Linked DNA regions of Homo sapiens: all the other regions are linked to region 2. Evidence: promoter capture Hi-C in 16 types of primary human blood cells and fetal thymus (Javierre and others, 2016). All regions are on one chromosome and are shown on one strand. Each heading gives the region's core, a stretch centred on a gene start or on the middle of the fragment in contact. The rest is flanking DNA. Distances are from core to core; before and after follow the strand shown.

The links. Contacts are between HindIII fragments. The CHiCAGO score rates a contact against its expected background, and 5 or more counts as called.
Region 1: a contact is called between a fragment that was not itself captured here and the fragment with the promoter of RFXAP in region 2, in 1 of 17 cell types (total CD8 T cells). The highest score is 5.4, in total CD8 T cells.
Region 3: a contact is called between a fragment that was not itself captured here and the fragment with the promoter of RFXAP in region 2, in 3 of 17 cell types (naive CD8 T cells, activated CD4 T cells and total B cells). The highest score is 8.7, in naive CD8 T cells.
Region 4: a contact is called between a fragment that was not itself captured here and the fragment with the promoter of RFXAP in region 2, in 1 of 17 cell types (total B cells). The highest score is 5.5, in total B cells.

What each region holds. Positions count from the first base shown.
Region 1 is chr13:39,664,911-39,667,610 of GRCh38, reverse strand. COG6 (component of oligomeric golgi complex 6) reads right to left here. Exons shown (of 19, transcript NM_020751.3): 4 at 2,457-2,515. Among named protein-coding and RNA genes, the nearest start is that of MIR4305, 2.1 kb to the right of the region's middle. The HindIII fragment of the contact is 2,122 bases long and covers 351-2,472 here.
Region 2 is chr13:36,817,817-36,820,516 of GRCh38, reverse strand. RFXAP (regulatory factor X associated protein) reads right to left here and starts at 1,295. Exons shown (of 3, transcript NM_000538.4): 1 at 560-1,295. The coding sequence starts at 1,159. It overlaps LOC124903158 (a long non-coding RNA gene), which reads left to right and starts at 1,446. Exons shown (of 2, transcript XR_007063760.1): 1 at 1,446-2,350. RefSeq lists enhancers at 488-717, 728-777 and a silencer at 1,008-1,377. The HindIII fragment of the contact is 8,641 bases long and covers 1-2,700 here.
Region 3 is chr13:39,011,937-39,014,636 of GRCh38, reverse strand. PROSER1 (proline and serine rich 1) reads left to right here. Exons shown (of 13, transcript NM_025138.5): 11 at 161-1,946; 12 at 2,404-2,554. Among named protein-coding and RNA genes, the nearest start is that of STOML3, 22 kb to the right of the region's middle. The HindIII fragment of the contact is 2,959 bases long and covers 1-2,700 here.
Region 4 is chr13:39,648,274-39,650,973 of GRCh38, reverse strand. No RefSeq gene overlaps it. Among named protein-coding and RNA genes, the nearest start is that of COG6, 6.0 kb to the left of the region's middle. The HindIII fragment of the contact is 1,779 bases long and covers 453-2,231 here.

The sequences.
Region 1 (2,700 bases), core at 162-2,661, 2.8 Mb before region 2:
CACAAAAGGATTGGATTGAAGATGCTCTGAAAAGTACTAGAAAACTGACTTATAGGTCAACATCAAGTAATTAACCACCAATGTGGGGGATATGATCATTTATCCAGCTATAAAATACAGAATGACAATATCAACAAGATAAAAGGGAATTTAAGGCCAGACTTCCTAAATTTAATTTCTATCCAGGCAATTTGCAATTCTATAAATCTGAGGACAACATCAACTTGCTCTCATTTTGGCTTGTAGAAAACACACAACGGGTAAAAGTGGATTTTTAGTGAAAGAGAAGGTAGTTAGTAAACAAAAAGGGGATTAAATGCATGAAATTATGATTAAGCTTTTATAAAGCTTTGATACTTAGTTGTTTTTAAAGATTTTTCTCTGGCATGAGGAATAAAATCAAAAGACTATTTTATTTGGTATTCTACCTTTCAACTAGTCTTAAAATTGTGCAATATTTTTATATTTTCCTGCTGTCAAACTCTTTTTTCAAACAAAATCTTACATGGAATCCTAATATATTAAACAAGTAAAAGTGAAACTGCTCTCACTAAAATTAGGGTGAGAGAATCTGACCTCCAAAACTCCATTATCCTTCTACGTCTTGCAAAGAAACCCTGAGGTTCAATGAACTATGGTTTGAAAGCCACAGGTCTAAGATAAGGTACATGTTCCAATATCCAATAATGTACTTCCTATACGTGTAAAGAAAATGTTTTCTTTGTTTTGTGCTATTAAAGATAGTATTTTTTAGATGATATTGGTACATATATTTTATTTTGCTAATTTTGTCACATTTTCTCAATGTTTTTATAAGACAGAAAAGTAAGTTACATTGGTTACCATTTTAACTGCAATGGATCATTCCAGTTGATCTCTGAGTCCTTTGTAGCCCTAAGACCCATGATATCCTTTTACACAAGTAACTTTACACCTCTGCACTCTTTATAATTTCCCATTCATCAATCTTAGTCTGAAGAGAATTGTGTTAAGAAGGATTAAGGGCTCAAAATAAAAGAATGTCAAGATCAGTGGATGTAAAACTAAGGAGTTGGGGGTCATGTACTTGCCATTTTTGGTCTAGGGCAGTGTTTTTCAAACTCTTGATTATGACCCATAATATTAAACCATTTAAAACCATTACTGAAACTGAAAGAAAGGCTTCACAAAATAATATTCACTCAAACTATTTTTACTTATTTATTTTTTAGAGACAGGATCTCCTTCTGTCACCCAGGCTGGAGTGCAGTGGCACTATCATAGCCCACTGCAACCTTGAACTCCTGGGCTCAAATGATCTTCCCACCTCAACCTCCAGAATAGCTGGGACTTCAGGTGTGCACCACCATGCCCAGCTACCCAAACTATTTTCTATTTTATTTCATTCTAATTTATTTTTTAAGGCTAGCTATGATCGATTTAAATAGTAGTAATGATTGATAAATCATAATTTACAACCCATTGATCTTGACCTGAACTACAAAAAAACACTAGTTGGATCAGAAGTCACAGACTTTTTCTGTAAAAATCTTGATAGTACATATTTTAGGCTTTGTAGGCCACATATGGTCTCTGTTGTAACCACACGACTCTACTGCAGTAGGGTAAAAGCAGCCATAGACAGTATGTAAACACAACCATAGCTGTGTTCCAATAAAGCTGCATTTACAAAAGCAGGTGTTGAGCTGGATTTGGCCTGTGGCCATAGTTTGATAACCTGTGGTCTATACTATAGTATACTGACCTACCCCAAAATCAGCAGTTAAAGTGGTAATATCTCCATATTACTGATGAAATACCTAGAATACTAAAAGGTTTAAGTGATGTACCCAACTACTGAGCAGGAGACAAGTATACTGCATCATAATATAATGCTTCTCCCCCCCTATACTACTCCACACATGAGAGATGCAGTTAATGAGTTTTAGCATAATTGCTATGAGTTTTAGCAATACTGAACACCACACATTACACAAATCCAGACTGTACTCACCTTTATTCACTCACTCACTCATTCATTCAATCAACCAATAGTATACCTATTGTATAAACTACAAGGAGAATTTATACAATTAACTCTTAATTATACCAGAGAGGATATATCATAGCTTAAAAATAAAAGACAATGATTGTGAAAAAAAAGTAATAAAACTATTAAAAATCTGAAAACATTTACATTTTAAAAAGCATCATTTCTGAACTCCACAGCAAACAATAACGATACATCATCACCTCTCTTCCAAAGAAGGAATAATCTCTCAACCTCAATGTCAAGTTTATTGCTCCTAAACTACTGTCTTTATGCTTAAGTTACTATTGGGTAATATAATAGTTTAGGACCTTATGAACCATGTTTTTTATTATTCTGCTTTAATTCTGATTTGGAGTTATATATAATTTTCTTTGACTCCAATCTCCAAATTATTGAAAAGGTGGTTGTATGAAGAAAAACTTACCTTTCAGATTGAAGCTTAGTGGTTTTTACTATTAAATCTTGAGTCTGTTCCTTTGCTGCCTAAAATTATAAACATATCTAATATAAGTAAATTCCAATTTTATTATATTTCAGAAAACAAATACTACCACTTACTGCAATTTAGACTTAAAACAAATGAGATCACTCTATGGAACTCAAAAGCACAATAAAATGAAATACGTAGATGTTTCAAGGCTCATCCACTGGAGGAACACACTCAGTTC
Region 2 (2,700 bases), core at 46-2,545:
GAAAAGAGTACTACGTACAGGGGTACTACAGACAGGCAACTGAGTATAGCAGTACTAAAAATACGGTACTAGGAAGAGGGTTAACAGAACAGGACACTAAAAACAAAGTACTAAATACAGGAGTATTACAAATAGAGGTACTGAGAACTGGGTACTGAGAACTGGATACTGAGAATAGAGTAGTGAAAACAGAAAGAGATGACTTTCTCAGAAGTACCAACTTCATCTAGGTTCCTAAGTCTCCTTTAGCGATGAACCAGACCGATCATTTACTCTATGTCCTTCCAGCCATATCCCAGATCTATGACAGCTCTGCCGATGTCACATTATTTTTACTGAAATTTCTGCACCTATCATGAGTTCAACAGAACTGTTATTGCTTTGCACATGTTGGTATAAACTTTAATTTAGGGCAAACACTCTAATTCTCAACCACTAACCCAGTCACTGCAAACCGGCCCATTTGGAAGTGGGGAGGCAGGCCCTGCAGATGCGGTTTGCGTTAAGATCGGGTTTCTTCTTCCACCTCCCATCCCCAGGCCTCAGCTAAGTCTGATACCTCGAGTTTGACGTTTCCCGCGCTGCCAGTCGAGGCAGTCCCACCGCAGTTCAGGGCCTGGTCGCTCTTCTTCTTTTTATACTTGTCCTTGTACATCTTGTTGCGGTGTTTCTTGCACATCCACGGTTTGCGCTGCTTGGCCACCTGGCTCGTGGTCTCGCTGCAGCCTTCGTAGGTGCAGGTCTTGCTCATGCTGCCCCCACCGCTGCCCCGCCTCCGGGCGCCCCCGCTGCTGCCCTCGCCCCCCGAGTGAGTCTCCTCGTCCTCTAGATCCTCCAAACTAGCCGCGCTCTCGCCTCCCCCCGGAGGGTCCGAAGTGTCTAACAGGTCCGCCTCGTCCTCCCCAGCCTCCTCTTCGCCATCCCCGGCCCCTTCGCACAGGTACCTAACGGGCTTGCCCGCCCCAACGCTGCCCCCGGGGGCCGCAGCCTCGTCCTGCCCAGCACAGGGTTGCATCACTAGCAGGGTGAATTGAGAGGCCGCGGCCGCCACCGAGGCTGGCGCCAAGGTGGGAGCCGCAGCCGGGGCTAGGGCCGCGGGGTGGGGCACGCCGCTGGCGGCGCCCGGCCCCGCGCCCTCCGCTACACCCTGCGCCTCCATGCTGCTAAGACCTGGCCGGGGTCCACGACCCCGGGCTTTTAGCACCTGCTTGGCCTAACGGCACTTCGCGAACCAAAGACTCAGGACACGCTGGGGTAAAAGGCGCCTATACCGGGAAGGCGCCCCGACTGCGCCTGCGCGACCGCAGCCTGCGCGTCAGCGTGTGTACGCCCGCGGGCTGTCAGGGAGCGCGGCGCCTCTGGGGGCGGGGCTGAGCGCACAACCAACGGGACTGACTGCGCATGTGCGGCCGCGGCCCCTTCGGCCAGCTGGGGGATTCGTAGACAGGGTCTGGGGGCTGTGTCAGGTGAAAACCTGCAGTGGCTGGCAAGGCAGCGCCGTTTTACCTGATCCTATTGTATCTAAAGCGGTTCAAAGTATCTTCTACAGGAGTTCCAGTATGCAAATTAGGATTGTTCCTGAGCGGTCTCACGACTTGTAGTGTTAGGATGCTAATTTTATTATTTCCCCCACAAACTGCCTGCAAGGGGAGATTTGAAGCTGGGATGCAGTGGTGTCACAGCCTAGAGTCACTAGCTCGCAGTCCATGAAGGCAGAGGTGGCTTATTTGAAAATAGTGGAGCGGAGAGGGATGGGCCACACCTTTGGCCGAGTTGTATTTGCATTGAGGGATAACTTTGTTTTTTTTCTCCTGGAAACTCACTTGATTGTTAGTACTTGCTCTTTGCTGTGGCTGCTGAGATAAGTCTTAACGTTTTCGTTTAACACAGTGAAAATGTGTGAAAAGGAATACTGAATGGCAAACGTTTAAAAAAACAATGAATGTTCTACCAGTTCTATCAGTTGCTGGGCAATTGCTGGTTGTTAAATCTTGGCTTGCCCAAATCCCAGGAGAGAAAATATCCTGCCGTATCCTGAACTGTTAAGTAGATGTTCTTTTTCCCTTCATCCTATTCTTTCGCCTAGTCAGATTTCCCATCCCACCTACCGGAAAGCAATGACTTTATTCAACAAACTATAAATCCATTCACACTAAGATGTTTGGGTGCTGACATATAGGTAGATCAGTTATGTTTTAAAGAGAGGCATATGGAAGGGAGAAGGTTTGGAATTAGAGCAACCTAGGTAGTACTTCCTGTGTGACTACAGCAAGTTCGTGACAGCCTCTCCGAGCCTCAGTTTCCTCATCAGTAAAGCCTGCAGTCGGTGGTGTGCTAGCGCCAACTGATGGTAACTGGTTGCTAAAATTTCAGGAATATAATTAGCAGAAAAATTAAACACTGCTATTATTAAAAGTCTTACTACATAAACTTACAATAAGATTATATTAAAAACAAAGGGTACAAATCTCAAAACTCTTCATTTTCTAATTATTTTATTATGTTTTATCATTATCTGTGCTTTTAAGGTTATTTATGTCTATTGTATCTGTATGCGGAAATATTATTTAGTGGTGTGTTACTGCACATTTTCCCAACTCTGCCTTCAGTATGTCATGTTGATTGCTTGAAATCAGCCACTTTTGGAGTATTTACACCAGGGAAATGATCAAATGCTACGAAGCAGGTTTACACTTATTG
Region 3 (2,700 bases), core at 143-2,642, 2.2 Mb before region 2:
AAATGGAACCCAGCAATTTAGATATTACAAGAGCCTGTTATACTTGTCATTTTTTATTTGGTATTTGTTAAATATTACAAAAATGGTTATGCTTTTTAATTCAAAATTTGACGTTTCAGCATGATGATACATTCTTGCCTTTTTTCCCCCTTCCATATAGCATTTTCCACCCCAGCAAGTCAACTCTTTTCTCCTCATGGTTCTAATCCTTCAACACCTGCTGCAACTCCTGTTCCTACTGCATCCCCAGTCAAGGCAATTAATCATCCATCAGCATCAGCAGCTGCCACCGTTTCTGGAATGAACCTGCTGAATACTGTCCTTCCTGTGTTCCCAGGGCAGGTCTCCTCAGCCGTTCACACACCTCAGCCATCAATACCAAACCCAACAGTTATCAGAACCCCTTCATTGCCCACTGCACCTGTTACATCCATCCACAGTACAACCACCACTCCTGTTCCTTCCATTTTTTCTGGCCTAGTGTCACTGCCAGGTCCTTCTGCCACTCCTACCGCAGCCACTCCTACCCCAGGACCTACACCACGGTCCACTCTTGGTTCCAGTGAAGCATTTGCTTCTACTTCTGCACCTTTCACTAGCCTCCCCTTTTCCACCAGCTCTTCTGCTGCTTCTACCAGCAACCCAAATTCTGCTTCATTGTCATCAGTTTTTGCAGGGCTCCCTTTGCCCTTACCACCAACATCCCAAGGCCTATCCAACCCGACTCCTGTAATTGCTGGTGGCTCTACTCCCAGCGTTGCCGGTCCACTTGGTGTGAACAGTCCTCTTTTGTCTGCGTTAAAAGGTTTTCTGACATCCAATGACACCAATTTAATCAACTCCTCTGCTTTATCCTCTGCTGTCACAAGTGGGCTGGCTTCACTATCTTCTCTTACTCTTCAGAACTCTGACTCTTCTGCTTCAGCCCCTAACAAGTGCTATGCCCCATCAGCCATCCCTACCCCACAGAGGACTTCCACTCCAGGGTTGGCCCTGTTCCCAGGCCTGCCGTCTCCCGTGGCTAACTCAACTTCCACTCCCCTGACATTGCCTGTACAGTCTCCTTTAGCCACTGCTGCATCAGCTTCCACGTCAGTGCCAGTTAGCTGTGGCTCCTCAGCCTCCCTTTTGCGTGGCCCCCACCCAGGTACCTCAGATCTGCATATTTCATCTACCCCTGCTGCAACAACTCTTCCTGTTATGATCAAAACTGAGCCCACAAGTCCTACTCCCTCGGCCTTCAAAGGTCCATCTCATTCTGGGAATCCCTCTCATGGCACTTTAGGTTTGTCAGGGACATTGGGCCGTGCATATACTTCAACATCCGTGCCCATCAGTTTATCTGCTTGCCTTAATCCTGCATTGTCAGGTCTCTCCAGCTTGAGTACTCCTTTAAATGGTTCAAATCCTCTTTCCTCTATTTCCCTTCCACCACATGGTTCCTCCACTCCCATTGCACCAGTATTCACTGCTCTTCCTTCTTTTACTTCTTTGACCAACAATTTTCCTTTAACTGGCAACCCATCTCTTAATCCGTCAGTATCTCTCCCAGGGTCATTAATAGCCACCTCATCTACCGCTGCCACCTCCACATCTCTCCCTCATCCTAGCTCAACGGCAGCTGTTCTCTCAGGGCTTTCTGCTTCAGCACCAGTCTCAGCAGCACCTTTCCCCCTCAACCTGTCCACTGCTGTTCCCTCACTTTTCTCTGTTACTCAAGGACCTCTGTCATCTTCAAATCCCTCCTATCCAGGCTTTTCTGTCTCTAATACCCCAAGCGTTACCCCTGCTCTTCCCTCATTCCCGGGGCTGCAGGCGCCCTCTACAGTCGCAGCTGTCACACCACTACCTGTGGCTGCCACAGCCCCATCCCCAGCTCCAGTCCTCCCAGGATTCGCCTCAGCATTCAGTTCCAATTTCAACTCCGCTCTTGTTGCACAAGCCGGGTATGTGGATAGTTTGGAAATAGGATAAAATTATTCTTCACCTAACTTGTAGTTCACATTTCATTTCAAGTCATCAAAATGAATGTCAAAATCTAAATGATGTTTTTCTGGGTGAAAACTTTAGCACTCTGAAATGTTTTATGAACCATGTTAAGATAAATGTATAAAATATTAATGCCTGTTGATACAATGTTTGGATTTGTATTTGATAGTTTTATTTATAAGACAGCAGAAAGGATTATATGCAAAACAGACTTACTGAATTTCGAATAATATACTTCACAGTAGAAAGATTCATATCAGGGAATGGCTGATTTTTATGGTCCTTCCAACAGAGGAATAAATTCTAAGGTTTTTGTTTTGTTTTTAACATTTTAAGATTGTATTTGACAAATATGGAAACAGTAGCTTTTATGTCTTGTCTGCAGTTAACTTGTTTTTCTGTCAATTGTTTTAGTTTATCATCTGGACTTCAAGCTGCAGGCAGTTCTGTTTTTCCAGGCCTTTTGTCCCTCCCGGGTATCCCTGGGTTTCCTCAGAATCCTTCACAATCATCCTTGCAAGAATTACAGCATAATGCGGCTGCGCAGTCAGCATTGTTACAGCAGGTAAGCAGCAATGGCTGGCATAAATTACATGGTAACATGTATAACTAACTTCTGTAGTGATAACATTGCAGTATCATTTGCGATATCCCAACATTGGCAAAAAATGGCTCTTAGCAGAATGCATAGAGATTTGATGATGATTACTT
Region 4 (2,700 bases), core at 93-2,592, 2.8 Mb before region 2:
ATGTTTTAAAAAAAAAAAATTGATTCCAATGTTATTTAAGTTATTCTAGGATTCAGGATTTCTTAACTTTGGCACCATTGACATTTGGGGCTGCATATTTTGTTGTTGTTGGGAACTATTCTGTTCACTGTAGGATGTTTAGCAGCATTACTGGCCTCTACCTACTAAATGCCAGTAGCATCCTCCCCAGTTGGAACGATCAAAATGTCTCCAGACATTGCCAATGTCCCTGAGGGGCAAAATTGTCCGGGGTTGACAACCACTGTTCCAAGCCGTAAGTATTTTAGTTATCTGATATTGCTTAACATATTTCCCCAAAACTAGTATATTAAAAAAAATCATAACTTCTGTCAGTCAGGAAATCAAGAGTGACTTGGCTAGGCGGTTTAGGCTCAGGGTCTCTCATGAAGCTGCAATCAGATATTACCTAGGACTGCAGTCATCTGAAAGCTTAATTGGTGCTGGAGGATTCACTTCGAGGTGGCTCACTCACATGGCTGGCATATGCTACTTACTAAAATGAGGCTCAATTTCTCACCAAATGGTCCCTCCCACAGGGCTATCTGAGTGTCCTCATAACATGGCACTCTTCCTGTTAGGCATTTACTATGGATATAATGCAAAAACTTCCCACAGTATATGAACAAAGATATTTATCTACCATGGTTTGTAATAGAGAGAAAAATAGAGATAGAGAGAGAAAGAAAGAGAAAGGAAGGAAGGAAGGGAGAAAAGCAGAAAGAGAGAGAGAGAGAAAGAAAGGATGGAAGGAAGGAGAGACTAAGGGAGGGAGGAGGAAAGAGAGACAACCAGAGTGTCTATCAATACAGGACTGAACAAATAAACTATCATGCACTCATTCATTCAGCAGAATACTATGCAAGTGTTATCTGCTATGAAGGAGATTTAAATGCTAACATGGAAATAATTCCACAATATACTCTGTGAAAAAGCAAGCTATATTATGTATGTATGATGAGATCACTTACGTGCACGAAATGGAGAGATACATATAAATTTAGATTTTTTTTCAGGATGGCATTCCAGTGGAAGGAAGGCTTCCATTTTCCATTTTGTACCTTTCTAAACTGATTGAAATTGTCTAGTCTTATTCATGTATTACTAAATATATTAACAGAGGTTATTAAGGTAGAGTAACCATGACCCACTTTTCTTGTTTATTTCTAATTCTCTGAATTAACAATTGTAAAAAAGTAAATGAGATAATTCATGAATTAAAATAATATGTGGTAGCATGAAAACAGGGAAATTATTTTATGTTTTAAATGCTTACTTAAGTATGTTTTTATGAGGTTAATTATAAATTGTTAAGAGCTTAAAATCAATATTTGTCAAGAGTTAAAATAAATTTTCAGGTGTGCCTCATCAGATACGTGTGTGTGTATGTATCCATATATTTTTGAAAGTAACGTTTTTTAGTGAAAATGTGAAAGATAATTGTTTATAGTAAGCTCCATAAAGTAGTAGAACATTAAAATAATTAAAAGATATGCTTTGACCTAAACATTTCAATTTAATAGGAGAACAAATACACGCATGTAAAAGAGCAAAGGATTTAAAAGAAAATGACAGAAGAACCATGCAGTAGACTGAAATGTGGAGATTCTTACCTTCTAAGAAATGATTGAGGCCAGATGTGGTGGCTCACCCTTGTAACTCCAGCACTTTGGGAGGCCAAGGTGGGCAGATCACCTGAGGTCAAGAGTTCGAGGCCAACATGGTAAAACCCTGTCTCTACTAAAAATACAAAAATTAGCCAGACATGGTGGTGCGCACCTGTAATCTCAGTCACCAGGGAGGCTGAGGCAGGAGAATTGCTTGAACCTGGGAGGCGGAGGTTGCAGTGAGCCGAGATTACACCACTGCACTCCAGCCTGGGCGACAGAGCAAGACTCCATCTAAAAACAAACAAACAAAAAAAAAAAAACAAAGAAAAGAAAGAAAAAAAAGAAAAGGTTGAAAGGAGGGCCTCTCCAAGTTCCTATTCCTCTCCTTTAGATCAAGCTCGTCCAACCTGAGGCCCACAGACTGCATGGATATGGCCCAGGACAACTTTGAATTCTGCCCAACACAAATTTGTAAACTCACTGAAAACATTATGGATTTTTTGCAATTTTTTTAGAGCTTCAGCTATCATTAGTGTTAGTGTATTTTATGTGTGGTCCAGGGAAGCCAAAAGATTGGACACCATTGCTTTAGATGGTTAAGCTTTCTTGCCCTTTGGCTTCTGAAATAAGAGGAAGTCACTTTGTATTGGTTACTGTGGCTTCATCAAAATATAATATGGCATTTATTACGGCTATGTCTAGTGAGTCATAGAATTTTCAGCCTTCGACATCTTTCATTGTGTTGATAATAGTAGCTCCCGTTATTTAGCAACTATGTTTATTGAAAATCAGGCTCTGTGCTAGAATTTATTATACACTATTTTTATCTTCACAGCTACCCTGAAACATAAGGATCATTACATTATCATGTAATTAGTACTCCTCTTGATGAGTAATCCAAGACTAAAGAAACCTTTCCAAGGATATATGGCTAACTCAGATAACACAGCCAGCTACCACCTAAGTTGGCGTTTAGCTAAAGGGTTCAGCCAGGCGTGGTGGCTAATGCTTATTATTCCAACATCTTGGGAGGCCGAGGTGGGCAGATCGCTTGAGGTCAGGAGTTCGAGAC